Regions from separate parts of the Homo sapiens genome. Here all the other regions are linked to region 1. The links are contacts of gene promoters, found by promoter capture Hi-C in blood cells and fetal thymus (Javierre and others, 2016). All regions are on one chromosome and are shown on one strand. Each heading gives the region's core, a stretch centred on a gene start or on the middle of the fragment in contact. The rest is flanking DNA. Distances are from core to core; before and after follow the strand shown. Region 1 holds the start of LINC01426 (long intergenic non-protein coding RNA 1426). Region 2 has its middle 53 kb from the start of MIR802. Region 3 has its middle 89 kb from the start of MIR802. Region 4 overlaps LOC100506403 (a long non-coding RNA gene). Region 5 overlaps LOC100506403 (a long non-coding RNA gene). Region 6 overlaps LOC100506403 (a long non-coding RNA gene).

Region 1 (5,078 bases), core at 1,314-3,813:
AAATGCGTCTCCTTCCAGTACTTCCCACTTTTAGTTACACCGAGATTAAACTGATAAACCAGAATCCATTTCTGTGGTTTGTAACCAAAAGAGCCTCACCGGTGCCCAACCGCTTTGAAGAAGTTAGACTCCTTTCCCAGCTTTGTCCATTTCTTCCCCGGCACATCTGTTCTCTCAGCAAGCGAGGCTGGAAGACACACCATTGGCAGAGCACTGTGCTCAGCGCCTTTTAGACTTTCACGTGGAGTAATATCACGTCGAGGTCTTGCCGTTGAGGTTGTCGTAATGCAGCTACAGGAGTTGTGTGGGCTCTTTAAAAATGACATGAAGCAGGGCACAGTGGCTTACGCCTATAACCCAGCACATAGGGAGGCCAAGGCAGGCAGATCACTTGAGGTCAGGAGTTCGAGACCAACTGGCCAACATGGTGAAACAGCGTCTCCACTAAAAATACGAAAAGTATCTGGGTGCGGTGGTGGGTGCCTGTAACGTCAACTACTCAAGGGGCTGTGGCAGGAGAATCACTTGAACCCAGGAGGCGGAGGTTGCAGTGAGCCGAGATCATGCCACTGCACTCCAGCCTGGGTGACAGAGTGAGACTCTCTCTCTGAAAAAAAAAAAAAAAAATGACATGAAACTGACTCATCAGAGCTCCATCAGGCCACGGGCTACAAATGTGGCTGGGCCACGTAGACAGAAAGACACACGGCCCTGGTGTAGGAGAGGAAAACACACTGTTTTCAGGGAGGTGGAATTAGGGGTTTCCCTGTCCCTTCTCTCTCAAAGCCTTTTCCAATGAATCTAGAATTTTTAGTTTCTTAATAATGTTCCTGTTGCTCTTCCATCTGGATGCAAAGGAGATCTATTCACGACATCTCCAAGAATGAACTCCATAAGAGCAGCAGAGTGGTCAAGGCCTACTTTCCCAGGGGTTCATTTTCTTTTTGCCTTTTTTTTTTTTTTTGAGACAGAGTTTCACTCTTGTTGCCCAGGCTGGAGTGCAGTGGCACAATCTTAGCTCACTGCAACCTCTGCCTCCTGGGTTCAAGGAATTATCCTGCCTCAGCCTCCCAAGTAGCTGGGATTACAGGTATCCACCACCATGCCCGGCAATTTTTTTTTTTTTTAAGTAGAGACAGAGTTTCACCATGTTGGCCAGGCTGGCCTTGAACTCCTGACCTCAGGTGATCCACTCGCCTCGGCCTCCCAAAGTGCTGGGATCACAGGCGTGAGCCACCGTGCCCGACCAAGGTTCATTTTCAATGCTGTTGACACGAAGGCTAAGATCACAGGGGAGGTCACAATTTTAGGATCTCAGCTTTTAGAATGCTGTCTTTTTAACCCCTTCAGCATTTCCATCTTATTGGAAAAGGGCAGGCAGGAGGGCAGATGGGAGGGAGGGAGGCAGTTGGGCTTTCTTCCTGTCCAGGGGCCAGCTCTGCCTTCCTGGTCCTCACTCCCAGCCCCACTCCTTCCTTCCCCTGTTCTGTGCCTCTCCTATCTACTCCTTCCACATCCCTAGCCACCTCACAGGCTCTTCATGGGGCTCAAGTGAGATAATGCAGGGTGTGAAATTCTTTGTCAATGAACGCATCAACTCTACGTTCCATTTGCTGTCATTATCTCCTGTATCTTTGTTCCACTTGTGCAGGTGATTTGTCCCCCCGCCAGTCCCCGTCCCCTCACCCCCAGTTTCATGGATAAGGACCAGCTGTAGACTCTGCCAGGCCCTGGGCAGTGTTGGTATCGTGCTTGGAGGTGCTGCTCAGTTATGCAACCCACCCTCCTCCCCCAGCCAGAGCCACAAAGCCACTAGGGCACTGTACCAGTTTGTTTATTTATTTATTTTTGAGATGGAGTCTCCCTCTGTCACCCAGGCTGGAGTACAGTGGCACGACCTTGGCTCACCACAACATCCGCCTCCCAGGTTCAAGCGATTCTCCTGCCTCAGCCTCCCGAGTAGCTGGGATTACAGGCGCATGATGTCACGCCTGGCTAATTTTTGTATTTTCAGTAGAGTCGGGGTTTTACCATGTTGGTCAGGCTGGTCTCAAACTCCTGACCTCAGGTGATCCACCTGCCTTGGCCTCCCAAAGTGCTGGGATTACAGGTGTGAGCCTCTGCTCCCAGCCCCACCGTGTTTAGCTTGGTTAGGCACAGAGCCTTGCATGAACCAGCACCTCGGGGACCCCATGACGAGGTCAGAGCGGGTGAGAGGCACGCACCAGTGTGACTGAGCCACTCGCTGGGACTCTGGGGGCAGCGTGGTGGGGCTTGAGATCAAGGAAGTGCCTGCAAGTGGATTCAACGATGAGACACTTCCCCGGCCCACAGGGTGGAGGGGTTGGCTGGAGGGGTTGCCTGTACTTACCAGAGACGGTCCCCGAGCGAGCTTGATAAGCTGAAAGAGACGCTCAGGAGAGCCCTGACAGAGCTCCCCAGGCTGGAAAGGACAGAACTCCCCACCGGAACTTTCATTTTCAAAGTTCAGCACCTCAGTTAAGTAATTAATAGGTCTGGTCACGTTCACAGCTCTCCAAAAGAGACTGATGGAGCTCTGCTTTTCCTCCGGAAGTGCTTTCATGGCAAGCCCAGAGAAGCCCCCTAGGAGGCAGCCTGTCATCCAATAATCACTTCCTCTCTCAGGCCCAAATTCCAAATCAGCTCAGCAATGGGCAGGGCGGCCCTGAGCCACGTCCAGAGGTTGGGATTTGCTGACTCCTGGAGGATATTCTGAGTATAGCAAGTAAGTGAACTCGCACAAACAATGCGTTCAGCAATGGGAAGAAAACAGCTGTTTTTGTCCGAGAAGTGTCTGGCATACCCAAGACTTCTTAAAGAGAGGAAAATATTAACCTAGAGCATAACAACCCCTTTCTCTTTTCAGTCAAAACCTAGACAGACTGTGTTGATATTAAGTTAACAAGTTCCATGGGCTAATACCTTCCGAATGAAATGAGAGGGTTCTTAAATTAATAGATGAAAACTCCCCTTCATACATCAGAGAACTAAGGAAAGGTAATTGCCCCCAATATTTATTTTCGATTTGGAAAATCCAAAGCAAGAAGGCTTTGAAGAAGTCAAGATCTGATTATAATTCTAGGCTCGGTGCCAATGGGATAAATTATCTGGCAACTTTTTTTGCACAGTTATTGATTCTATTTGTCTCTGACGCCAAGCGCCCAGCATGGCACAAAGCCTCACAAAGTGCTCCGAAAAGGGTGTCATCCCCACACCGTTGATAAGGCTCAGAGTCTCTCCACGGCCATAATGCAACCCCCTCCTCCCCAGGGGGCTGTTGGCACCTCAACCCACTAAGGGATCAGGAAGTAGAGTTTGCCAGTGAGGAGCCTGGAGACTTCAAGCCTGTTTGGCCTTGGTGTTCTTGTGATTTAGTGCCCTGGACTGGCAGGTCTAGGGACTTTTTGCTCTAGACAAACTTTTTAAATAGGCCAGGTGCAGTGGCTCAAACCTGTAATCCCAGTGCTCTGGGAGGCTGAGGTGGGAGGGTTGCTTGATCCCAGGAGTTTGAGGCTGCAGTCAGCCATAATCACACCACTGCAGCCCAGCCTGGGAGACAGAAGAAGACCTTGTTTCAAAAAAAATTTTTTTAATAAATATAAATTTAAAAAATAAAAAATCCCAACACATGCACACACATACATGCACACACATACATGCACACACACACATGCACACACATACATATATATGCATGTGCAAAAGGTATGCCCAAGCTATACTCTCTTTATTTGAGTTTTAATTTACAGAAGTTTTCAACCTGGCCAGGCCTGGAATCATGGAGAATGGGCTGGGAATGGGTCTGCAGAGGTTCCCAAGGACATGTTTGAAAAGCATCCTCCACCTGGGAGAGCTGGGTCAGAATTAGCACACTCTAGGAGAGTTGGGGAACAGCTAAGAGCGGGGCACACCAGCTCGACTAACTGAGCCTGAGCCAGTGGGAAAGTCCTCATAGCAGTGGTCACTGGAGCACGAAACAGGGACATGGCTGGCTGGGGCTCCTTCCTCCGCCCCTCCCCAAGCACAGGTGGGCATGCCGTGGTGGGGCTGGGAAAAGGCCTATGGCCAGGGAAGCGCAGGATGACAACAAAGGAATGGTCAAGGCCTAACAAACAGAAACAGCGATGCAAATTGCCTAGGAGATGGAGCGGCAGTCACTGGAGCTGGCGTTGCCCAGACTTTGGTTGGCTTCAGGGTGACAGTTCAAGAAGGCAGCTCCTCCTGTGGGCCAGTGAGCTTGCTCCAAGAGCAGCCCTTTCCAGCTGACGCCCAGAGTGACCCAAAGGCTCTCCCGGAAAGTCCGGTTCTAAGACGATACAGCTGCCCGTCATGGAGCAACCTGCCCAAAACCACAGGGGGAAAAAAATCCAATAACCAAATCCCGGTGACCACACCCTGTCTGCAGTTACTCAGAACTCACTGGCCAAGGTCCAGGGAGCAGACCGAGTCAGGCTGAAGTCTATCCACATTTAATTTTCAATTGAAAATGGAAACAAGTCAAGCCAAGACAAACCCAGGGCCTGATTTAACAGCATCTACTGCCATGGCAAAGACATTGTCATGTGGGGTGCCACAGATCAGCCACCACCACCCCAGGGAAAGGTTGACACCACCACATCCAGACACTTTTCACTCACCTTTCATATAGAAGCTCATCCACTGCATAGCAGCTCAATGGTATTGTTACTGTTATGTTCTTTTTACAGGTGAGAAAACTGAGGCACAGGTTAAGTGACTCACTAAGCTCTCACTGTAAATGGTGGGGCAGGTTTGAACCCATGTGTCTGGCTCTTTGGTTCTACATGCGTTAATTCTGATTATAGTGAACGTCTGAATGGCTAGAAATATTTGGAGATTGTGCCCGGATGACAGCTGCAGAGAAGTGACCGTGGCTGACCCTGGACAGCAGTGCTTGGTCTTGCTGGGAATCGTCAGGTCCTCTGCCAGGCTTTCCTGGGGAGCACCAGGTGAAGTATCATGGATTTGAGGTCCTCTGTACTGGAGGCAGGACGCAGACACCAAGAACACCTCCAGGCAGGTGCTGATTCGCCGGCGGA
Region 2 (5,078 bases), core at 1,736-4,235, 920 kb before region 1:
TGATTTTAAAATGGTCAAAGGGCCTGACTAGAAATTTTTCAAAGAAGACATAAAAATGGCTAACACATAGATGAAAAAGTGCTCAACACCAGGGAAGTGCAAAAAATCATGAAGAGATATCACCTCACACCTATCAGGATGGATATTATCAAAAAGACACTTGGTAACAAGTGTTGATGAGGACGTGGAAAAAAGGGAACCCTCATACACTCTTGGTGGAAATGTAAATTCGCACAGCTATTATGGAAAACAATATGGAATTACTCAAAAAATTAAAAATAGAACTACCATATGATCCAGCAATTCCTCTCCTGGGTATATACTCAAAGAGATGAAATCAAGAGCTCATAGAGATATCTTCACTCCCATGTTCATTGCATCGTAATTCACAATAGCCAAAATATGGAAACAGCCTAAGTGTCCATTGATGGATGAATGAATGAAGAATATTATTCAGCCTTTAAAAATAAGGCAATCTTTAGGGGGATGTGGAGATGGTTAACGAGTACAAAGAAAATAGAAAGAGTGAATAAGACCTAGTATTTGATAGCAGAACAGGGTGACTATAGTCAGTAATAATTTAGTTGTACATTTAAAAATAACTGAAAGTATAACCTTGGATTGTTTGTAACACAAAAGATAAATACTTGAGGGGATGGATACCCCATTTTCCATGATGTGTTAATTGTGCATTGCATGCCTGTATCAAAATATCTCATGTACTCCATAAATATATAAAATATATACACCTACTGTGTAACCACAAAAATTAAAATAATAAAAAAAGGCAATCTTGCCATATGTGACTGCATCAAGGAACCAGGAGACATTGTGCTCAGTGAAAAAAGCTGGGTACAGAAAGACAAATACCATACGACCTCACTTATATGACGAATCTAAGAAAAAGTTGAATATATAAAAACAGTAGAACGGTGGAAATGGGGAGATGTGAATCAAATGGTACAAACGTGTAGTTAATGCAGGGTGAATACGTCTGGAGAGAGAGCTAATGTGCGGCAGGAGGACTGTAGGCAATTATTGTATCATATACTGGACAATTGCTAAGAGAATATATTTTAGATGCTCTGAAGACAAAAATGAATAAATATACTATGAAAGGTGATACGTTAATTTGCCTACCTGTGGTAATCATTTCACTACATATGTATATATCAACATCCTGTTGTACACCTTAAAAATACACAATAAAAAATATTAAAACATTTTTGATGACAATTTATATTTAATGATGAATAAATGATGAATAATAGTTTTCCTATATGAGCTCCTCAACCTTTAATACACCTCCTCTGGCTTGATATGTCAAGTTGGACATGTCTGTGTTTATTTCTTTATTATACAAAAAATCTTTCCCCAATAGTAGTAATAGAGGGAATCCCCACCTTATGAAAAGGCACATTTAGAAGTTAGTTTTGGGCATTAGAATATTCTTTCTCAAAGAAAGAAGGGCAGGATCCCAGGACAGCTAACTAAAGCCCAGCTGAGCCATGTCCTGTAATACCAACAGGGCCAGAAGATGTAAGACCAATGGAACACTGACTTTGTGGGAAAATATACTGAGAATGTCACTGTGTCTCAACAAATAGCTTCTCTTTTCAGAGACAGGAGAAGGCTTCTCCTCCCCCTGCTAGGAGCTGGTTGTGAAAGCCAGGGTGGCCTTCAGGGTCCCTGCACCTACAACATGGTAGCTGGAGGGAGTGGAGAGTCAGGGCCTGAGGAGTGAGGTGCTGGGTATTCCTGGGTCCAGGGTAATTGAAGAATCTAGGGACACCTTTCTGAGCCAATAATCTGCATGACTTTTATTGCCAAATAAATGACAAACAGAGTTTATGCAGATGTAATGGATGACAATGAGGTCGTATTGGATTAGGGTGGGCCTTCTATTCAGTTACTTGTGTGCTTATGAGAAAAGGAGAGGACACAGAGGCAAAGAGAAGAGGCCATGTGAGGATGGGGGCAGAGCGTGGGTGTGGCACCTGCAAACCAAAGAATATCTGGGGTCACCAGAAGCTGCAAGAGGCAATGAAGGATCATCTCCTGGAGACTTCAAAAGGAGCATGGACCTGCCGACAGCTTGATTTCAGACTTCTGGCCTCCAGAACCTGGAAAGGATAAACTTCTGTTGTTTAACTACCCTGTTTGTTATTATCTGTGATGTAAGCTTTAAGAAACAAATGCAAAGAAGCTTAGTGAGACTCTTTAGGTTGTCCCATAACTAGCAAATACAGGCTTGACTTGAAACAAAAGCCATCAAGAATGCCCACATTCTAGAGAGGGCATCAAGATCTGCACCACAGAGAACTTCGTGGAACCAAAAATGCTGCCACCAGCCACCACCCATCACCTCTTCCTGTCTTTATAATGAAGTCTCACCATGAAGACAAGTGGGATGATACCTGGGGAAGCAGTACTAAGAAATTGGGGGTGCCCTTGGGGGAAAGGAAGGGAGTCTTGCCTTTCCAAGCTGGACATTGGCTTAGGTGATAGACTTGCTGATTTGCCTATTGGAGGGAAATGGAGCGGGGAGCAGGATGGGTAGGGGTTGGAAGCCCACATACCAACCACATGGCAAGGATGGCTGGGTTTCCTGTGGGTCAGTGGACACCCTGGAATGACAGCTGGGTTTGAGTCATCTTGCTCGTACCCAACAAGGCGGGATGTTCACTGGGCACAGGGAACCTAGCAGTAGAAGGCTATGGGATTTGCACCTGGTAAAGGGAGCTATGGAGAAGGGGTTGGAGAGGTCAAGCCAGAACCAGGAATCCTATGTCACAGAATTGTGCAGTAGGTGGAGATAGGGAAGGGAGATGACAGAGCCTTCAGAGCCTGCTGGAGAATTCAAACTTGTTCCCATAAGAGAGACAGTGCTTAGATGCTGCCCCTCAGAGAAGTTGCAAGTCAACCAGCCAGTACAGCTGCAGCAATCATCTGAGAGAGAATGCCATCAGAGGTCACATAAGTGAATAGAGACACGGCCCCTTCCTATCAACTGGAGGAGCTCAACCGGGAGTAGACAGTGGGCATTGCAGAAGCAGAGTTTGCCTCACTGCCCCACCCTTCAGCATTTAAGGTCCTACTCAAGTCTACACAGAGGGCGTACGACTGAAAACAAGATTGAGACTGAAGGTTTGCAATGGCCCTTCATTAATTGCCTTATCACTTTCACATTTTAAACAACTAGAAAGGTACGGAATCCACCCAGGACACTATTAAGGAGTATAAAAAGAAGACTCAACAGAGCAAAGGGCGGGGGGAAGTAATTAGAGAAATACAAGCATTTTGTGTTTCTAACCCAATGTCGTAAGACTCCTTGATGAACTGCTTACAGTCCCGAGTTCTTTCTTTAATTTAATGGTTATTAGGTTGGTGCAAAAGTAATTGTGGGTTTTGCCATTACTTTTAATTTAATATTTTGTTAATTTGCTCAAGTTGATAGCTACACAGACAACGGTGAGTGGGCTTGTCTGCTCTTCACCTGCTCATTTTTTATCTGTGAGCCTGTTGGGAAAGGCTAAGTTCAGCAGGACTTCCCTTGAATACTCTTAGGATCACAGGTTTATATCTCTGTCTGCCATGGCTTGCAGATGTCAGACTGGTTTTTTGAGTGCTGCTTGAGAAAGGAAGGGATAGATCAAAGAATAAATTGGGAATAGGTTCTTAGGACATCTCACCTACATTTCAAAAGGGACCCCTGCAGCTCCACTTTCTAGACATCTTATCTTAGAAGTAATGCCAAAGCTTGGTGTGAAGGAGGAGGAAGGTCATAGAATGGTGGTGTGGGAGACAGAGGAAAATACAGTCTGAGGATTGCGGGGCTGCGGCTTCCCCCAGGGCCTTACTCTCACTCCATCCTACCGCTATGCTACTGGGACAGCTGGCTCTGCCACTGGGCTCCCTCCTGGATGAACACTAGGGAGGGGTAAGGAATGTGGGTCAGGGTTTGGGGAGACCTCTGGTGAAGCAAGAGGGAAGGGGACCTTGTGTTTCTGGGCTCTATTTAGTACACACTAGAGTAACAGCTTTTAAAGTTGAATACAGCTATTCTATAGATATATGTCTATTAAGTAAAAATGTTCGCCAGTGTATACATTTTTTGAAATGTCTTTTGTTTCAAAATGTTTAACTGTTTTTATTTTGGAGAGGCTTATGATTAATGCAGCTATGAATTAAGAATTGGGAGACAATTGATCGCCACGTCTTTAGCCTTTTGCATCTTCAGATGAACTTGGTTTTCAGACAACCCATTGCAGATCCCGTCTTGAGTTATCCAGAGAAGTTTTATTTCAGCAGTCCGATGCTCTATTCTTGGAGGGCATTTTAGGACAAAAATTTTCAGTAGTAGCCATGTACTGGGGTGAGCTTCAAGCTAATGGGAGTCTTAGATGTAGTGGTATGCTTTCAGTAGACATCAAACTAATGATAAACTCTGCTTAGTAAAAGAAAAGTTATTCTACTGAATGCCTACTCAGAATACGATATCTTTACTTATAGCCAGTAAGATTTTTGTTGATGTTTGGGGAGGTGGAGGAATCATCATGACAGTATTCAATGTATAGATAATGGAGAGAATGTGTATTTTCACACCGGCACACTCAGAAGTATGAAGGCTTCATTTGAAAGAGTAAAGTGATTAGTTAGTGAACATAGTGCATTTCACAATTTTAGGGAACCAAATAAGAAATCAGATTTGAAGTTCTACATCAAAAAACAAGAATACCAGGAGGCTGTGATTACTCTTCAACTAGAAGAAATAAAATTGCCCATCTTCAAAATATGCAGAGTATCCAACTTGCAACTAATCCTGAGTTTCAAATCAATAGGGTTTAATATTTCAGTGGCAATCATAGGTTGAAATCAATGCTGTCGTGGCTCTTTGGGAGAATAGAAGCTTATGAAACAAAGGAATTGAAGGCAACCATCCAAGGATGAAATAAAAGAAATATGCTTTGCAAGGACTTTTGTGAAAAGGAAAAGTATGGCAACTCAACCCATCCCCCAAGACCCTTTCCTTCCAGTTTCAATGTTAGGTCCTGGAGCCTCAAGAAAATGGTTCCAGA
Region 3 (5,078 bases), core at 1,170-3,669, 890 kb before region 1:
CAGAGTTCCCTCTATGCTCTGCCTAGAAGTGCACTGCTACCAAAATCAACGATTAATGGTTGAAAAAGTCTGAAAAATGGATATCCCTTTGGCCTTTCTAAGGTTTGTCATTAGTTGACATACCCATTACCTCAAAAATCAAATGTGTTTGTCTAAACATTATTCTGATGTTTACTTTGGGCACTAAAGGGCAGACAGCTGACCACGGACGCGCTGACAGTGATCAATTCAGCCTCGGATCTTGTCACTTTCCCTGTTTATTCTGCTATCAATCTCCCCTTGGCCTGCCATCGTGGCTGCTTTCTGCTGCTCAGGCGCTTTTAAAACTAACAATAATCCAATTTAGAATTGATCCATGAGAATGTGTGGTCAGTAAGCAAAATGACAAAGTCTGCGTGCGACTGCTGACCACAGTCAGGGGGTCTGTCTTACAGGAGGCTGAAGGCAAATTTTAATTAATTAATTAAATGCTAACAGCACTTAGGCCTCTTCCGTGGGGGTTCTTTAAGTCAGACCCTCTATGTTTCTGTGTCTTAGAAAAGGAGAAAACTAGGCCCACTCAGCATCTGCTAGACCAGGTACCTTCTACAAGAGTGCTGTGCAGGGAAACATTCCATTATGGCGGAAATGGTCTGTATCTGTGCTGTCCAATGCGGAGCCCCGAGCCACCTGTGGCTCAACTTGAAATATGGCTTGTGCAACTGAGAAATTGAATTTTTAATTTTATTTAAATTTAATTTATTTAAATTTAAAGTTAAATAGCTACATATGGCTATTGGTTCCAGCACTGGTGGTCATTGCTCTTCTAGAATGTTGAGGTGTTTGTGGTGAGGTAAAGCCTGGTAATGTTGTTTAGGATGTCATAGTGATCAGGAGGCCACAGCCTCCCCCCGATCCAGCACAGCTAGAAACCAGGCAAGAGAACTGAAAGAAGCTATTCAAAGGCTCCCCTGCATCCTAAAGGCAATAGCATGTTTGACCAGGGCAGCCTTCCTGCTCTGTGGGAATGGGGCTCCTTCAGTGGCCAAGACGGCCTTCAATTCAGTTTCTCAGTTGCACAAGCCATGTTCCAAGTTGAGCCACAGGTGGCTCGGGGCTCCTCATTGGACAGCACAGATATAGATCATTCCCACCATGATGGAAAGTTTCGCTGCACAGCACTCTTTTAGAAGATACAATCGGGGTGGCTCTTGCCCAGCAGAAGGGAGAGGGTGCAGGACTGGACATCACCAGGGAACAAAAGTGTGTTCCTTTTCTTAAAATCCCCCAAGCAAACCTCATTCTCAGCTGTATTCCATGTCTGGTTTCCAGGACAGAATGCTCCATTGGGTTCTCAACACCAACTGGCTCCCTGATTCAGGATCCAGGACTCAGGATATGCCTTGGCACCTCCTTCTTGAATTTCTCTTTTGGTTTTTGGTTCCCAAATTGGCGAGATCCCTAGATCCTGCATTCCTTGCCCCTTCCCTCAACTTTAAACTCCATTTTTGCCAAATCCAACAGTGGGGAGTCATTTGATGAATTTCTTCAAATGATTTGCAAATGTTACCTTCAAAGAACAAACAGTTTAAAAGCTAATTGCTAATAAGATTATACTCATAGATGATATTAATATTGGGGAGTGTTTTAAAAATCGTGAAATCAACTTAGCATTTATCTCGAGATACACATCTGCCAAAAAGCATGATTAGATTTTTTACAAAACCACATCATTTCTTATTTGAAACTTAAAGTTTATGGGGGCTATTATGAGCAAGTAGAAACACTTTATGATGGCTGTGATATAATCAATGCAGATTTAAAATGCTGTAGCAGATAACAATTTTCTTAGAAGGAAAGAGGTCTGGATTTTCTCTTGAGAGAAATCTCAAATCTATAATTCTTGCATTATTAGATACCAGCAACAAAAAAGTAAATACAAAACCCAGTTATTATTTACAAAAAAGAAATAAAAAATTATTTCTTGAACATCTTATGGAAGGAAAAACTTTAATTTTGGTCATTTAAAAAATTTAGTTTTAGATAAAGCTTTATGTAACATACTGTAAGCATTTGACAATGACAACAAAAGGATAAGAAAGCCTTTGAATTAAAAAATGAGAATTTAAAAAGCATATGTAACATTTATATAATCATTCATGGTTTCACTATCTAGAGACAGACATAACACAGTATTTTCTTATATGTGCTTCTAATATTTATTTTACAAAAAATCTAAGTAGAAATATTATGAATACAATATTTTTTCTTGCTTTTTAACATTGACATATATTTTCCATATTTGCACATTCTTTCTAAATATAATTTTTAAAAAGTTAAATAATAACCAATGGAGTGAACATATGGGATTTGTGTAGCTATTACTTTTTTGTCTGGGATTTAGATTACTTCTGAATTTTTTTGCTATTAAAAATAATGCCTCTCAATAGTCAGGATTATTTTGGGCTCCATTCTCAAAAGTGTAAGTACTGCATTGGAGAAAATAAACATCGTAAGGCTCTTTGCCAAATTGCTTTCCAAAAGGATTATATCAAAATATTAGCAATATTGTAGAGTACCCTTTCACAGTGCCCTCAGCAGTGGCGGTGATCATGATCTTTCTAAAAAAATATCTGGTTAATTTGATAGAGGTCAAATGTTACTTCATTTTTATTTTAATGTGTCATTCTTTGATTGCTGGTGAAGGAAAGTGTTTTCCACACATTTGCTGATTGTTTAGAGTTTCCTTTTTGGAAATTGCCTATTCACATCCTTTGCCAGTTTATCTATTGAGGCTTCAGTATTTTAAAACTCAATCTGATTAAGCTTTTTAAGAATATTAGTACTTTGTCTATGTAATATCTCCTCTATTTCCCCCCAAATAAAATGCCTTTTAATTTGCTTCTATTTATTTTTGGAAGAACAGAAGCTTACATTTATAACACAGTTAAATATGTTAATGTTTTTATTCTAAGTTTAATAAATTGTACCTCCTCCAGTGATGGTAAACATATCTATTTTTTCTTGATTTCTTATATGTTGATGTTTCACATTTAATTTTTAAATTCCCTTGGAACTAATTTTGTTGATTGATTCTAATCTAAATATATGTATGTGTGCATATATGTGTGTGTGTATGTGTGTGTATATATACACACATATATACATATGTGTACACACACATATATATACATATATGTACACACATACATATATGTATACACACATATATACATATATATGTATGTGTATATATATGTATGTGTATATATACATACATATGCGTATGTATGTGTATATATACATACATATGCGTATGTATGTGTATATATACATACATATGCGTATGTGTGTGTATATATACATACATATGCGTGTGTGTGTGTATATATACATACATATGCGTATGTGTGTGTATATATATACACACACACGCATATACACACACACACACACACACACACACACACACACACACACTAATCAGTTGCCCACTCCAAGGCTGTTTATGAAATGGTTTACCCCTTTTTCATTCGTTTGAAATATTTCTTAAAAATAAAATAAAAACCATCCATTATATTTATTTTTTATTTATAAGATACCTTATTTCTTGATTATTTTGTTCTGTTGATTCCAGAATTAGAGCATCTTACTTACTATCAATTTGCACCGTTGGTTACCGGCTGACAAGTCCACAATTCTCCCAACATCATTCTTTTTTAAAAAGCTGTTTTGTTTTATTTTGGATGTGTGTGCCTCATGGGAGGGGTGAGTATTGACTATCGATTTTTTTACTTAATGTTTTGAGTTTTAATCTTTCTGAATTCTTCCAGTCTCTCAAAACCAGATGATGTCCTGTAGCCCTCAGAGCTTTCCCTGACCCTTCTTGGTGGGAAAGACTCATCCTCTCTCTCACTTCCACGTGGTTCCATCTGTACTTCTCTTAGAACATCTTTACTTCCAGCCTTGTATTATAGTTATTTTTGGCACACCTTATTTTTATCTGATGATGTGTCTGTAATTGGCTGAATAATGGCCGTCAAAGATGTCTACACCTAATCTCGAGAACCCATGTATATTACCTTGCATGGCAATAGGGACTTGGGATTTTGCAGATGTGATTAAGCTAAGGATCTTGAGAAGGAGAAATTATCCTGGATTATCGGGGCGGGCCCTGAATGCAATCCTAAAGGTCCTTGCAAGGGGGAGGCAAAGGAAGACTTGACTCCAAGAGAGGAGAAGGCCGTGTGACCATGGAGGCAGAGATTGGAGCCATGTGGCCAGGAGCTCAGGACTGCCTGCTGCCCTCAGTTGCTGGCAGAAGCAAGGAACGAATTCTCCCCTGGATCTTTCAGAAAGAGGCAGCTCTGCTGACATCTCAATGTGAGCTACCTGAGACTTACATTGGGCTTCTGATCTCTAGGACTGTAAGGGAATTAATCTCTGGGATGTTTATGTTCTGGGTTTTTTTTTTTTTTTTTTTTTTGCCACTAAATTTGTGGTCATTTGTTACAGCTGCAATTGGAAGGGAATACTGCTATTTTCCATATCCCAATGGCAATAGCATGGTTAGCCAGAGTACCCTTCAAGCACGGTATACAGTATTCTCTCTTTTGGGGCAGTCTGGGTTTTGCGTCTTCAAGACTTGGCTGCTGAGTTAGTATCAACAGTGCCTTCTGATTTTGTTTTGCTCTTCAGAGTTTGATCCAGCTCAGGATCTAGGAGCAGGACTGACTTCTCACATAATCTTTTATGTGACCCTCTGGGTGCACATCTTCACGTTCCAGTCTCATTCATAAGTGAAATGAAATTTAGCTCATCATTTATCTGTCTCTGTGAGAGGAATTCAAAATCGCTACAGCCAATTCTACTTTATAGAAGTTACTTCCAGGATGATGGCTGAAAGCCATACATTGAAAAGGAATGAGTTCATGAGAGAGGCTTGAATGAGTAAATTGATAAAAGTTTTTACTAAACATCCTATCTGCAGCTTTCCTATTCGATCACATGAAAGTGAACATACCTTCTTAGAAGTTAACAATACTATTGCTCTATATGGCATACATTTGTTTGAAAAAATGCGTTCCTTAAACGCAATT
Region 4 (5,078 bases), core at 1,115-3,614, 760 kb before region 1:
CTTGTTTGAGAAGAGCTGCCTGTTGTCACTAGAGCAGGCCACCCCTTGTTATTCACACCTTGTGGAGCTTAATTTCATTCAAGCGCCTACATGCAAATTAGATTTTTACCCTGAAGGCAAGGCGTCATCTGTTGTTTGGCCAACAACAGATGCTAAATGAAGAGGAAAGGAGAATGTGTACTTTTCTTTGAGAATCTATTATATTTCAGACTGTAATTATGTTTTTTTAAGAATTTTTTAAGTATCAGTTTTTAAGTATTAATAAAAATGTCATCTGAGTTATTTTTTCAGAATTGAAGGACATTGAAGGAGAATGATATTGGCAGATGTTTCCTTTCTGACCAATTATTAATTTTATAATAAAATACTATTATTTCCTAAGTCACTAATATATAGTTTGCATCATCTGCTCAAAGGGTAAGACTTGGGCAAACAAAATCAGGCACATATCCAGAAGATGTTCAACTTAATTTCTCATACCTCTTAAAACAACCTATCTGTATTACGTGACCATTATAAGTTCTTATCTTTTTTGTGAAAGGAAATTTGTTAGAAACTGAATTGGGACACATATGGTTAACACCTCTTTGAATAAAGTATGCATTTATGTAACTATAAAAATGTAGCCTGTATGCAAAATGCTATATAATTACCTTCTAATTTAATATTGACTTTCCCCCGGGAAATCCAAAGTATTGAAGGTTTATCATAAGCTGAAAATTATAGATTCCTGAGGAAGGTGATTGTTGCTAGAAATAGAATAATTTGGCCTTACGGTGGTTGGCATGAACAGTGCATCCTCTGCCCAGTTGGGTTTTTGGCGAAGTGGCAGTTTAAATTAAGCACTTGGGCACTGTGATGATGGACAGGCCCAGATGAAAAGATAGCTCTGGTTTTATGCTCAAGGCTTCATGTTTCCCACAAGATGAGGTATTTATTAACTAAGAGTCGCACCCACTTCACTTTTATTATTAAATGTTTGTAGAGCCTTCCTGAAAAGAATAATGCGGGTAGAATTTATACTGGGAAGGTTTCAACATCCCATAAAACTGACACTCTAGCACTTTGTAGAAAAGATGGGCCTGGGGAATGCAAGGAGGGAGAGGAAACTCTCCAAGATATAGATCTTGCTTAAAAGGGAGTTTCACCTCTGATAATTTAGGAGGTCAGAGGGCAGGTCTAAGTTCTCAGCCTCTGGATGTAAGAAGTGACCAGGAACAATAATGGGCAAAAGTGTGTGTGTGTGTGTGTGTGTGTGTGTGTGTGTGTGTGTGTGTGTGTGATACATTTAAAACACATTTACTCTCCCTTGTTTTCAAACACTTAAAAACATATTTTACTTTGCTGGCAAGAACAGATAGGGGATTTAAAGGCTTGGTAGTTTCTATGAATAGCAATGCTGAAATGTTAAAACAAAAGAATTCAAGGTGTTTCCCGTAACCCCCCTCTCCCCAGGGGCATCTTGGGTTAATAAATTAATCAAAACCAAGTGTGGGCTGCAGTGAAACTATATAAGGGTGGTATCTCCTTGGATCCAGCTGTACATACCGGTGTCAAAACAGCAAAAGCATCCAAAAATGATCTCAAGCTAGGATGAAGCCTTGATCCATCATTTTTCACCAAAACTAGTGAAACAAGTGAATAATGATTTGGGGACACTCTGGAACAAGAGTTATTAAGGACTGACACAGGCACATGTTACTCTAAGAGATAAAAATGAATGAAGCAGTTGCTCATCTTCAGGATGCCTCCTCCCTCCACCCTATACGCAGAGACTATTATCCTTCTCCCCAATACACCACATACTCTTTTTGTTTTTCCCTTGGAGACCCAATGACAAGCCACAGGATATCTATTAGCATACATTAAAATAAGAACCATCGCTTGCAATCTCTACTTTGGTTGGGACCAGTCCAACATCCTAGCAAAAATCTGCCAAGTTTCTCTCTCCTGGAATTCAGACATTTAATCAATGACACTTGCTTTGCCAAGGTTGTAAAAATAAAACAACTCTCAAAGTGCTAAACCTCCATTTCGTTCTGCAAATGCTTCAGTTAATGATGGAAACATACAGAACCAGAGGCTAATAGAGTAGAAAAGAATTGCACGTGTGTGTGTGGGCACATAGCAAATGTTAGCATGGCAAAACATGAAAAATAGGCACAACGAAAAAGATGTTAACACAGAGTCCCAGCTAAATTTACATAAATTTACATTCCTGATTATTTCAAAAGTGTTATCTTATATAAAACTTCTGATTCCAAATTACAAAAAGTAGCTGTTTCTTTTTGTTTATTTTATTTATTAATTATTTAATTTTGAGACAGGGTCTCACTCTGGGGCCCAGGCTGGAGTGCAGTGGTGTGATCTTGGCTCACTGCAGCCTTGACCTTCTGGGCTTAAATGATCCTTTCTCTTCAGCTTCCAGAGTGGCTGGGACTACAAGCGTGTACCACCACACCTGGCTAATTGTTTTTATAGAGAGGGGGTTTCGTCATGTTGCCCAGGCTGGTCTCGAACCCCTACGCTCAAGCGATCCACCCGCCTTGGCCTCCTGAAGTGCTGGGATTACAGGAGTCAGTCACCACATCCAGCCAAGAGTAGCTGTTTTTTCTATATGTTGAACTTACACTAATTAAAATATGTTGATATATGACATATGTATGTACCTTATGAAGTCTTTTTTATGTGGCCATCGTACTGTTTTGTATCCCAGCATAAACATGTTATTTAACATAAAGGCATAGCACATAGTGACACACAAGATGTGCTCCCAGAAATGAAAAACACTATAGTTTCTAACATTCAAAAGCCAGCTATCATCATAATTTGCTCTTGATGGACAGAAATAACAATTTGCCTATATTTCGTGCTCAATGTGCACGAGTGCAGAGGGACTTAGCTTATGGGACATCGAATCATAACAGACTGGGCAGACTTCTCGTCATGATCTTTCAGCATGTGGGATAGGCTGTTTGTTCCTTTTATTAGGAATACAGCTTTATTAAAACAGAGAAAGGGAGATGTAACCCCGGGATACACAGGCTGTGTCAGTTTCAAAGTAGGTTCTGCAGCTCCCTAGGTATAGGAACCATCCATGGCAAGCCAGACATCCGGAAGGGTTGAGCCCTTGGTGCTACAGTCTCCCGGGGCTTGAGCAGGATTGCTGGTTAACTGGCTCTGCGGTGCACAGCACCTGTGGGGCTTGTGGGTCCCTCAGCCCCAGGTTCCAGCCTCCGGAGCCAGGGATGCAGCTGGACACAGTAATGCACTTCTAGCTCTCACTGATTGAGATTAAATAAAAGCAGGAGGTGGGGATGCATTATTCATGATTTTCTTTGTAATGGAATCCAGAGCACTTTTGAAGGCTCTATACTTTGATACTTGCTCCTGGCAAAAAAAAAAAAAAAAGAAAAAAAAATTAAGTTAGGGAGAAGAGGAGGAATAGATGTTGTTAGATATGTACTGCTTGCCTGGCTTACTGCAAGAATTCTTTCTGTCTGAGACCACCAGACAGTGGCTTGCCTCCAAAGAAGCCTTGTTGTGGCTTATAAAAGGTATGGAGACCTGTTTTAAAAATCAGGAGAATTTTTCCAGGTACAGAAAGGTACAAATTTTAACTCTAATATAAAGGATAGGCTTCTTTTTGACGTCTACTGATAAAAATAAGTAAATAAATTTTTCAGTTTATTATACACTTCAGAGGAACACTTAGGGCAGTTCCTTCACAAGAGAAGAGAGAACTGAAATGCATAGTCCCTGAGCTTTTTCTCCAAATTTACACACACTTCGCTTCAGCAGAAGCCAGCTGCAGATCCCACCCAGGTTCCTACGCTTCTAGCACTGACATACTCTGTACAGCGGTGTCACTTGCAAATTAGTCTTAGATTGACACCTTAAATGTGCAATGTCATCCCATTTCTCTTTGGAAGGAGACTTTCCAAGATACTAAACCACTCTTTTGTACCAAAGCTCCCACGAAATCATACAAAGAGCTGGAAGCTATATCCCGTTTGCACAAAGGTTTTGCAATATCTCCATGGAGGAACTTTATGGATTCGTGGGAGTAAAATAAAAGGAATGGAGGATGTGTGGGAAGTTTGTGTTGGAAGACATTTGTCTAGCCCAGTAGTGATTAAAATATTATAAATTGTGTTTTGTCTGGGTGGCTCCTTTGGTTTCCGATGTTATTCCTGTTTAATGTTGGCGGCTGAGGGTGGAGGTGGGAGGCAGGGAAGTTTCTAAGATTATGGCCCCATATCTGAGAGTATAGCCCACTCCTCCTCTCTCACCAAGGGACACATGCTTTGGGTTTAGCCCCAGACTGTTTAGGAAAGGAACTCTCAGGAGCTGCTTTTTGGAACTTCAGGTTTTTGGCATTGACAATCATAGCATGTTCCATGTGTTATGGGGATGAACAGATGTGGGTTCAGATTCACCGGTTAAATGCATGTCAACCACGATGCAGAGAAGACGCTTGTTGCTGGTTTATGTGCTGTGCCCCAAGAGCTGAACAGCTCACACATTCCCTCCAAACAGGCCCTGGAGGAGTCGAATTTGTCAAAAGGTGTCTCTGCAACTGAGAAGCTGCCTGCTGGGTTTAGGACTTCCCAGCAGTGCTGGCAGCTGCTTTAATTTGTCTGTGATGATGAGACCAGCAACGTTTGGTCTGTAACACAGAGGAGAAAAACAGGAAACCCTCCCCCTTGACAAACTGGCTGAAAATCCTGAGAAGCTTATGTTCTCACATGCACTTTCTTCCTTTCTCTTTCCCCTGCCCTTCCTTCTACCCTGAAGCCTTTATTTTTGTGGGTATAACACGACCAGTTGGGTTGGATTAACTCTCAAACATCATTATTCCAAAAAAAGGAGACAAAATGATAATGGCAATCAAAACCACGTTTTGCAGTTTGACAGTTTCTTACAGAACTAAACATAGTTTTACCAGGAGACTCACCAAGGATACTCCTTGGTGTTTACCCAAATGAGCTCAAAACCTGTGTCCATACAAAACCCTGCACACAAACGTCTATAGCATCCTTATGTGTAGCAACCAAGATGTCTTTCAGTAGGTGATG
Region 5 (5,078 bases), core at 942-3,441, 680 kb before region 1:
AACTTTTATTTCTTATTCTTGGCAGTAATTAGTTGGCTGACTGTATCATAATCAGGTCCTGGTGATGAGTTTAAGGAGCATCGATTTTCAAGGTGAGCTTCTAGTTGCAGATGTTGGCTGACCCAGGTCACATTGGCCTGTGGGTACAAATGCAGCTACATTCCTCATTGTGTTCATTTCCCAGGGCTGCTGTAACAAAGTCCCACAAATTGGGTTGCATTAAACAACATAAATTGATTATCTCTTAGCTCTGAAGGCTGGAAGACTGAGATCAAGGTGTCAGCAGGGAAGGTTTCTTCTGAAGCTGTAGGCTGAATCTTGTGTGCCTCTCTCCTAGACTCTGGTGGATTTCTGGCAACCTGGCATTACTTTGGCTTATGAAGCATCACCCAGATATCTGCCTTCATCTTCACATGGTGTTCTCCCTGTGTGCATGTCTATGTTTCCATTTTTTTTCTTTTTAAAAAGACACGGTCTTGCTTTGTCACCCAGGTTGAAATGCCAGTAGCACAATCATGGCTCAATGCAGCCTTGACCTTCTGGGCTCAAGCAATTCTCCCACCTCAGCCTCCTAAGTAGGTAGGACTACAGGCATGTGCCATCATGCCCAGATAATTTTTTGCATTTTTCGTAGAATCAGGGTCTTGCAATGTTACCCAGGCTGGTCTTGAACTCTTGGGCTCAAGCAGTCTGCCTACCTTGGCCTCCCAAAGAGCTAGGATTACAGGAAAGAGCCACTGCATCCACCAAATTTCCTCTTTTTATAAGGACATCAGTCATTTTGGCGTAGATCTAAGCCAGTATGATCTCATCTTAACTAATTATATCTGCAATGATCTTATTTCAAAGTAAGGCCACTTTCTGGGGTACTAAGCTTCAACATACAAACCTTGGGACATGGGGGACACAATTCACTCATAATAATAGGAAAATTATTTTCCACATTTTGCTGTCACCTCCCCTAGATGACATTACCTCACCTCCTCATCTCTAGTTCTCAGTTTAAGTCTCCCTCACATATTTCTGAGCAAGTATTTACTAGTGAATGATGGTGCTCTCAAATACACCCATCAAACACTGCTTTCTGTTACCACCAGCCTGTTCACAGAGGACCTCTGCCTCTTCTCCTAGGTACCCTGGCTCTCCTGGGCACCAGCACTCGTGCCCTGGTTCCTTCTGCCCATGACCACTGGCACACCAGCACTCTACAGCATCTCTGGGTCTTGGGGTGATGAGGCTAGTCTGTTTTCTGGAGTTCTCTCCACCCAAGGTGCCTTCTTAAGTGTGGAGAAGCTTCTCTCCCACTTGGTCACTGTGTGCCATGAGAGGATCATCAAGGCAGGACCTACGCACAGATGTCTTAGGAAATCTGTAGTGAAAACAGACCCTGCTACATTCAGAAAGTTCAGGAAGCAGGCACTTGGTCAAGCCAGCCTTATCTGCTTACCTTTGTATTACATCTGCACATGCTTTTTTCCAGAATGTTCCTGGGTCCTGCATGCAAATTGACTCCAGGCAGCTGCACCCCACCATTCTGCCAGACATCCTCAGACAGGTCTGAACACTCCAGAAAGTGGTGGAATGCATCTGTGGGTCTTCTTTTAGCACTCCATGTTTCTCTTAGCACCATCCCTTCTAAGTTCACCCAGCACCCTCCTGCTTTTTATCCCTAAGTTTGAATCTGATCATCTTCTCACAGGGATCAAATAAACTGATGATTGCTGTAATCTGACATGATGTGGAATTTGAATTTTAAAAGAAGAAAGGGTAGTGAAGAATAGGCATGAATTTCTAATGGTAGACTTTGGATGCTATGGCAGTTTGAGTGGGAAAAGTATGGGTGCTTTCATGAACCAGCATGCACCTGTGTGCATGTGTGTGTACCTGGCATGTTACTCTGGAGCTTTTCTTCAAATTCCTAGTCCGAGGGTGTCACTTCTGGCGCCACTGAGAGCAGCAGTTTGCTCATGTTTCTTGCCTTTGAGCCCTTTCTTCAATTGAAACCTTACATAGATGTAAGTGGAACCTCTCACACAGGCCCCAGGTCAATCCATATAGGTTTGAATTTTGGCTTCTCAATTTTTCAATTGTATGATCGTAGTCAATACCTGAATACCTTGTGCCTCAGTTTCCTCATCTCTAAAATGTTAGAAACATTCTACTTAACTCATTTAGGTCAATGCACATAGAGTGTGTGAACAGTGCCTGCCACATGGAGCTTCTGGCTAGAGGGTAGATGAGGGTGAGTTCCCAGCAGCTCAGGCAGGTTCCTGATGTGGCTTGAATGTTTGTCCTCTCCAGATCTCATGTTGCAATATGATTCCCAATGTTGGAGGTGGGGTTTGGTGGGAGGCGATTGGGTCATGGGGGTAGATCCCTCATGAATGGCTTAGCGTCATCCTCTTGATGATGAGTGAGTTCTTGCTTAGTTCACATGAGAGCTGGTTGTTTCAAGGAACTTAGATCCCCCTCCTTTCTCTCTTGCTTCCTCTCTGGCCATGGGATACCAAAGTGTCCCGCTTTGCTCTCCGCCATTAGTAAAAGCTCCCTGGGGTCTCCCCAGAAGCCGAGCAGCTGCCAGCACCATGCTTCCTGTACAGCCTGCAGAACCCTGAGCCAATTAAACCTCTTTTTCTTTATAAATTTCCCATCTTGTATGTCTGTGTAGAAATGCAAGAGTGGTCTAATCCAGTTCCCTTCCTCTTCGAAAAGTGTCCTTGAAAGAACATTTTGAAGGAGAATCCCCCTGGGGTGACTCCTTTTGTAATTTCTGCAGAAGGATGAGGCAGGATCAGCTGGGATCTCAAGAAAGAAAATTGTGCCAATGTTCCCTGAGTGACATAATGCCTTTCTTTTGTGCTTCTCGTTTTTAAGACATTGACTGCCTTGGTGAATCATTCTAATGTCTCATGGTGGGCAGCATGCTTGCTGTGTGGAGAAAGTCCCAGGGCCCGCCTGCTCCAGCCACTACTGCTCTTGCTCCCATTTCTACCCACTTCCCTTGGCTATGCTCATGAAAAGTGTATTGGCAAATATTGTGATTCTTGGAAATACCCAGTGTCCAAGAGCATGTAGGGAAACAAGCTTTCTCACATGCTGTTGTGGAATGAAGCTTTGTGGGAGGCAGTTTGACAGTATCCATTATGATTTGTTAAGTGCACATACCTTCTGAGCAGCAGGTCCACTTTGTTGAATGTATGCAACAGAAATATCTATATTATCATGTTAAAATAATACAATATTATCATGTAACAGTATCATGTCATATATGGATATAAAATCTATATCATCATTTATCATATAAAATAATGTTTTTATTTGTATGTATCATTATTCATGATAATGGAAAAATAAGGAAAAATCTGTATCAATCAGAAGCTGGTTATAGAAATTACTGTGGCTAAACTGTAATGGTTACATTTAATTTCATGGTTATTGTTGGTTAATTTCATGTGTTGCCCGGGTAGGCCATGGTGCACAGTGTTTGCTTAAACACCAGTCTACATGTTACTGTGAAGCTATTTTTTAGCTATGATTAAACTTTAAATTGTAGACTTTTAGTAAAGTGTATTACCTGCCATAACATGGGTGGGCCTCATCCAATCAGCTGAAGGCCTTAAGAGAAGAAGATTGAGATCCCCAGAGGAAGAAGAAAATCTACTTCCAGACTGCCCTCAGACCAGAGCTACAGCATCAGCTCTTCCTTGGGACCCAGCTTGCCAACCTGCTTGTAGAATCAGGACTTGCCAGGCTCTACAATCCCCTGAGCAAATACCTTAAAATAAATCACATTATCTATCTGTCTGTCTATCTGTCTGTCTATCTATCTATCTATCTATCTATCTATCTATCTATCTATCTATCTGTCTGTCTGTCTATCTACCATCTATCTGTCATCTGTCTACCTATCAGTCAATCCTCTGTGTATCAAATCTCTATCCATCCATTCTTACTGGTTCTGTCTCTGGAAAGTCCTGACTAATACAGATACCATGGCGTTGCCTTAAAATGAAGCACTACCATATTTTCTGATACAAATTTTTTCTCTGAATATATTGCTAATTGAAAAAAGCTGGTTGCAGATCTATATACGTATGCGTAGTTCCAAACGATGTCCTAGCTGTTGACTTGTATTTTTGTGTTTTCTTGCTGTGTTGCCCAGGCTGGGCTACAGTGGCATGATTATAACTCACTACAACCTTGAACTCCTGGGCTCAAGCAGTCCTCCTGCCTCAACCTCTCCAGTAGCTGGGACTACAGGTGAGAGCTGAGACACCACAGCTAGCTAATTTTAAATTTTTTTTTTAAGTAGAAACAAGATCTTGCTATGTTGCCCAGGCTGATCTTGAACTCCGGTCCTCAAGCGATCCTCCCACCTCGGACTCCCAAAGTGCTGGAATTACAGGCATGAGCCACTATGCCTGGCATCTTGACTTTTTATATATGTCATGCTACCTTCTGGGACTGTCTCTTCTAGTGCAGGCCCACTTTCTTTCCTGGTCTCAAGGCCAACTCCCTCCTTTCAGCTTTGCCTAATTTTATGGCTCACAGGCTTTTTCTGTCTCCTGTTATTTGTGTGAACTTAACCATGACTTTTTACTTGTTTTAATCGCTGTCCCATCATGGCATTTGGCAAATAGTTATGTCCATCACTCCCAGCTGTTTCCAGTCTCCCACTTGTTTCTACTCTCCCACGTCTACCTCAAATCCTGGCTTAGGTCCCCCCGGATGGCACCTTCCCCAGGCTTCTGGAACATTACTTTGCCTGTGCTCCACTTAGCTGGTCCCCAGTCCTCTCTGCTCCCATTATACGCTGCCATCTATGACCATGCCATTGGCAAAACACTCAGGAAAAAATGAGCATATATGAGACACAACTGATACACTCCTCTTCCAAGGTTATCACAATGTATTGATGATAGTATGAGGTTATCACTAACAAGGCCAGGATTAGAGTGATGTAAGAGGGTTAGTCATAAAAGTTCCGGGCTGGCCTAATCTCCATTTATAATTTTGTTATTTTGTTCATCATAATTGTTTGGATTAGTGTTGACTTTTTAAATATTGCATTAATATTC
Region 6 (5,078 bases), core at 1,788-4,287, 640 kb before region 1:
AGAGAGTGGCAAAGCTTGAACTAAGCTTGGCCCTCTTCACTCTTCATCCAGTGCTCTTCCCCCTTACCTTCCAGAAATGGCCCTCTGGATACCCCCTCCCAACTCCTGCACACTCACACCACACGGTAGGGTTACCTCCCTGCTCTCCTCCAGCCCCTATCAAAGTTCTCCTGGCTCTCTTCAGGCTATGAGTGCCCCAAGAGAGGAACTATATTTTATTTGATGCTGGATTAGTTTCCTGGGGCTGCCACACCACAAACTGGGTGGCTTAAAAAAGGAAATGTATTGTCTTGAGGTCAGAAGTCTGATATTAAAGCATTAGAGGGTTGGTTCCTTCTAAGGCTGTGAGGGAGAATGTGTTCCAGGCTCTTTCCTAGCTTCTGAAGGCTGCTGGCAATCTTTTGTGTTTCTTGGATTCTAGACATATCACCCCATCTCTGTCTTCATCTTCATGTGGCATTCTCCCTGAGTGTGTGTGTTTCTGTGTTCAAATTTCCCCGTTTTATAAGTCATACTGAATTAGGGGCCAGTCGCAAGACCTCATCTGGACTAATTACATCTATAATCGCCCCATTTCTAAATTAGTCACATTCTGAGGTACTGGGGGTTAGACTTTCAACATATGAATTTTGTTGAACCCATGACAATTCAACCCACAACAGATACTATCACACCAGCATGCAGCATAGAGACACTCAATAAAAATGTGATAAATAGATGTGCGTACGTTGTCTGCACTGGCTTTTACATTGTCATCATCTGTCTCTTTGTTACTTTATTTACCTTTCCCAACTCTTAGCATCTCTCAGGCTACTGTCTGCCCATCAACTATGGGATCAGGTCTAGGGATGAATCAATGAGAGAGGGCTACACAGCCTCTCCCAGTTCCCAGAGGTAGCCTTAAGGGGATTTACCCCAAAGGAAATGTTGATTGGTGCACATGGAACAACAGGAGAAAAACGTGCACTTAGCTGGATATTTTGAAGGTGGCCTCTAAAAATGACACAGTGAGGCCAAAATTTACCTGTAATTCTATCTTCTCTACAAATTCCAAACTCCAGCAGTCAACCAGTAGAGCGTCTTGGTCAGGTTCTTCTAGGCACCTTGTTCTAGTCAAATCTCACCACAAACATTTTACAGCTGCAGAAACAGAGGGAGATTCTAGGATGTACATTTCAAGGTTCAGTACTAATCTTACTTCCTCCATAAAGAATTCCAGGATTTTTTCAACCAGAAGGGCTGTCTTCCTCCTCTGAACCCCTGTGGCAAATACCATATTCATCATGCTCAAGACTGTTGTCCCAGAATTAATTTTATCCTAAGTATTGGCCAAGAGATTGAATACAAGAGTAAATGGTTAGGGTAGTCCAGAGATGGTCTTATGTATTAGGAGAGTAAGTTTTCAGGTTCAGTGGTGCTAAGAAATTCCTCCTTTATCTTAAATAACTCTTTATACTCCGATAGTAGAAATTCCTTCTAGTGGAGGAAGGTGGTGTACAATATAATTATCAAGGTAAGACATCTACTTTAGTTCATACTAAGGTGTGAATGACTGATATAATGACCTTGTCTAAGAAAAGGTTTTGATAAAAGATAAGGGAGCATGGCAATACAGAGGTTGCCTGAAGGGAAGATGGAAGAGGTAGTTGGGAAACAGAACCAATGCATGAGGAAAGGGGCCTGGAAGTAGGAGACAGATGCCACTGGAAATCAATTTTCTTTACAATTGTGTTTGTAACCATCTGTGGACGAGAAAAGAAGACATTAAAGTTTCTGGATCCTTTGGTTCCCAAAAGAATCATTCTCTTCTCCTGCCTATTGGGCTTCTATGTCTTACTTTTTTTAATATAAAGGATTTCTTTACAAAGAAGTGTGAATGTCTAGACATTTAGGAACATGCTGGAAGCTGATCAACTTTATTCTTGAGCCTGGTCTTATCCTACAATTGAAAATATATTTATAAATGTCCACCTAGATGACAATACAAAATCACCACCTAAACATTAGTATTTCTGTGAAATGACTGCTGAAAAAAGTAGGTCAGTTTATGGAAACCTCTCTGAGAGGCTGTGAGTTTAGTAAGTTTCGTGGTACTTATGAGTCAGGGCAGAGCTCCCAGGACAGCTGCCTGATAGATAGAGGTCCCTTCTCCTGGAAAATTTAAAACATGTCTCATCAGACTGGTAAATGTGCTAGTAGAGTTGAAGATCCATTTACTATCTGTGGGAGAAGGAAGTTTATTATATTTGACCAACTCATGGTTGGGTCCTAATAAAAGATGTGTCTCAAATTATGTCTAAGTCTTCATTCTAAAGCATGCCAGAAATTTTGAAGGGAAAGCTCAGCTAGAGACAAGCCAAAGATCTGTCTTGCATCTCCAAGGCGTAACTTAAGCTGAGTTATTGGAACACGCACACATTCACAGTATTACAAAAAAAAAAAAAAAAAAAGGTCAGCTGTGGCGACCGCCAGGAAGAAATGCCAGACACTGCCAGTTTGGCTGTGCCCTAACATATGTTCATTCATGGGCATGCAGCCAAAATGGGGCCTGTTCTTCAGTCCAGGCCTGACTTAATGCTTCATTACCTTACTCACCTCAACACAGGATGTAATGTTGAGCATTGAGCAGCAATAGCTGGCAACAGAAATCAATGTAAATTACTGTAGGTTTAAATAGTTGGATGTTTTTCCAGGGCATATTCCCAGTCTATATTCTGAAAATAACTTGATAGGGTACTTAAAAAACAATGTATCTTTGCTCTTAAGTCAATTTAATCTCATAAATATTTTCTTATTGTGACAATTTCCATGTAGCATGCAAAATACAAGTAAAACAAAGCTTTGATTTTCCTTAGTTAACTTATGCCTTTTCCAATAACTGAGTTTTAAAACTAAAATAGGAGCAAAAGACCAATCTTTTATACATTTGTTAAGTGTTCATTGTATGTTTAGTGTTCACTGTATTAAGTGATAAGATTCTCTTACAAATACTTTAAAAAATATTATTATTATTTAGAGATAAGGTCTCATTCAGTGGTCCCACTGATACAGACTATATTCTTATTGTTTTAATTGGCCCCTTTATGTCTCTAGACTGGAAACTCTATGAGTGTTGACCTTACATCCTTATCCCAGCCTCCACCAGGAGAAACAGAACAGAAACAGATTAAGCTAAGGAGAAAGCAAACCTAAAAATGCAAATTCAGTTGGGAAATAATGAAAAGTGAAAAGCTTTTAGAAATAACAAAACAAAATTACATTTACTTTTGTTCATTAATTTATTTTATGACCATTTGATAAACATTTGTTCTATACAATGGTATTTGAAAGCTTAAGGATCATATTGTCTTTGGAATACCAAATTAAAGAAACCTACTACAATAAAAAGCTGAATGAAGTAGAATATTTATAGATAACCTTTTAGCTACACTACTATTAATAAAATGCTAAATGAGATGTCCAGTTGCAGCCGTGATGAATTAATGAGTTTTAGACATAGTTGCCAATTCATGAAAGTAAGGAAAATACCTGAGGCAACTATTTTCAGATATTAAACTCTACAGTTAATGCAAGGCTGTGCTCCTCAAAAGAAGGGAGACACATAAAGTGAACCCCACATTCAACTCAGTCTTTTGCCTGGGTATGCTTTCCAACCTGTGACACAAGGAAGCAGAACCAACACTGGGCGGGGGAAACAGACCAGAGGCTGGATCAGCATTAGTAACTGAGTTTGTTGGTTGAGGCACTAGATAGAGGGGAACCTCACAGAGAAGGAGTTCTATATATCAGCATAGGGATTCCCTGGAGTTTTGAGTGACATACTAAGCTCTGTATGGGCAGATAAGACTCCATGAGGCCAGGCAGAATATAGTTGCTAGGGACTGTGAGAATGGAGAATCCTGAGGACACATAGTATTAAGAGATGTTGGGGTGCTAATGAACCAAAGTTGAAGTTCCAATTTTAAAGGAAAATATCAACATAATGAATGAACAGGTGGGAACTACCAGCTGATAAATGAAAACTATCAAAAAGAACAAGATAAAATTTCTATAACTTAAAAATAAAATAGCAGAAATAGAAATTTCCCAGGATGGCCTTAATGGGGATTGGAAAATGCAGTACGAAAAAAAAGGGTGAATTAACATAGAGGTCCATGGAAACCACCCAAACTGAAACACTGAGATGGAGGAGAAGGAGAAGGAGAGGAGGAGATTGAAAAAATATGATGAGAGCTTCAGTGACCTGTGGCACAATATCAGGTGATCTAATATATTTATAATTGAAATCCTAAAAAATAAGGAGAGAGGTTGGAGAAGATAAGAAAAAAAGGAAGGATAAAAGATCAAGTCATTTCCAAATTTGACTAAAAATGTCAATCTGCAGATTCAAGAAGCTCAAATAATCCCAGACAAAAAAATACAAAACAAAGTAATTTTTAGGAGCATTATAATAAAATTGATAAAAACTAAAGAGAAAATTTAAAGCATCCAGAGGAAAAAAACCAAATTAGATACACAGGAAGAATGATAAGAATTATTTTAGGCTTCTTGCAAAAACAGTATAAACCAGGAGACAATGGAATAATATCTCTACAATGCTGAAGAAGCAACAACAAGATTAACATAGAATTCTACATATAGCAGATATAGCCTGTGAAAATAAAAGCAAGATGAGAACATTTTTCAGGTAACCAAAACTGAGAGAACGTGTCAATAGTAGACCTATACTTTAAAGAATGTTAAAGGAAATTATGCAAGTGGAAGACAAATGTTACCAGATGGAAATCTGGATATTCAGGAAGAAATGAAGAGTAACATACCTTATAAATATGTGGGAAAATATAAAAGTTGCTCTTTTCTCAATTATTAATTTCTCTGTAGGCAAGAATAATAAAAATGATAAAAATGTGTGGTTTATAACATATGTAGAAAAATATATGGCAATAGTAACACAATGGATGGGAGAAGGTAAATGAAATTATACTTTTGTTAGTTTTTTATATGATGTGTTATTAATTCAAGATACATTATATTGTGCTAAAGACAAATATCATAATCCTTAGAGCAACTACTGAAAA

The links. The method cuts DNA at HindIII sites, captures the fragments that hold promoters and counts their contacts. A CHiCAGO score of 5 or more calls a contact.
Region 2: a contact is called between a fragment that was not itself captured here and the fragment with the promoter of LINC01426 in region 1, in 1 of 17 cell types (monocytes). The highest score is 5.1, in monocytes.
Region 3: a fragment that was not itself captured here is called in contact with the fragment with the promoter of LINC01426 in region 1 in 3 of 17 cell types (total CD8 T cells, erythroblasts and activated CD4 T cells); the score reaches 6.2 in total CD8 T cells.
Region 4: a contact is called between a fragment that was not itself captured here and the fragment with the promoter of LINC01426 in region 1, in 2 of 17 cell types (M0 macrophages and M2 macrophages). The highest score is 9.3, in M0 macrophages.
Region 5: a fragment that was not itself captured here is called in contact with the fragment with the promoter of LINC01426 in region 1 in 2 of 17 cell types (total CD8 T cells and total CD4 T cells); the score reaches 6.0 in total CD8 T cells.
Region 6: a contact is called between a fragment that was not itself captured here and the fragment with the promoter of LINC01426 in region 1, in 4 of 17 cell types (non-activated CD4 T cells, activated CD4 T cells, naive CD8 T cells and 1 more). The highest score is 7.4, in non-activated CD4 T cells.

What each region holds. Positions count from the first base shown.
Region 1 is chr21:34,743,310-34,748,387 of GRCh38, reverse strand. LINC01426 (long intergenic non-protein coding RNA 1426) reads right to left here and starts at 2,563. Exons shown (of 3, transcript NR_038885.1): 1 at 2,372-2,563. LOC107985515 (a long non-coding RNA gene) reads right to left here. Exons shown (of 3, transcript XR_001755016.1): 3 at 4,450-5,078. RefSeq lists enhancers at 1,182-1,476, 1,683-2,182, 2,183-2,684. The HindIII fragment of the contact is 11,220 bases long and covers 1-5,078 here.
Region 2 is chr21:35,665,118-35,670,195 of GRCh38, reverse strand. No RefSeq gene overlaps it. Among named protein-coding and RNA genes, the nearest start is that of MIR802, 53 kb to the left of the region's middle. The HindIII fragment of the contact is 1,553 bases long and covers 2,209-3,761 here.
Region 3 is chr21:35,628,860-35,633,937 of GRCh38, reverse strand. No RefSeq gene overlaps it. Among named protein-coding and RNA genes, the nearest start is that of MIR802, 89 kb to the left of the region's middle. The HindIII fragment of the contact is 777 bases long and covers 2,031-2,807 here.
Region 4 is chr21:35,503,363-35,508,440 of GRCh38, reverse strand. All of the region lies in intron 1 of LOC100506403 (a long non-coding RNA gene), which reads left to right. Among named protein-coding and RNA genes, the nearest start is that of MIR802, 210 kb to the left of the region's middle. RefSeq lists enhancers at 1-253, 1,497-2,086. The HindIII fragment of the contact is 4,746 bases long and covers 1-4,737 here.
Region 5 is chr21:35,418,720-35,423,797 of GRCh38, reverse strand. The region is part of intron 2 of LOC100506403 (a long non-coding RNA gene); the gene reads left to right. Among named protein-coding and RNA genes, the nearest start is that of MIR802, 300 kb to the left of the region's middle. The HindIII fragment of the contact is 1,791 bases long and covers 1,296-3,086 here.
Region 6 is chr21:35,387,618-35,392,695 of GRCh38, reverse strand. The region is part of intron 2 of LOC100506403 (a long non-coding RNA gene); the gene reads left to right. Among named protein-coding and RNA genes, the nearest start is that of MIR802, 330 kb to the left of the region's middle. The HindIII fragment of the contact is 392 bases long and covers 2,842-3,233 here.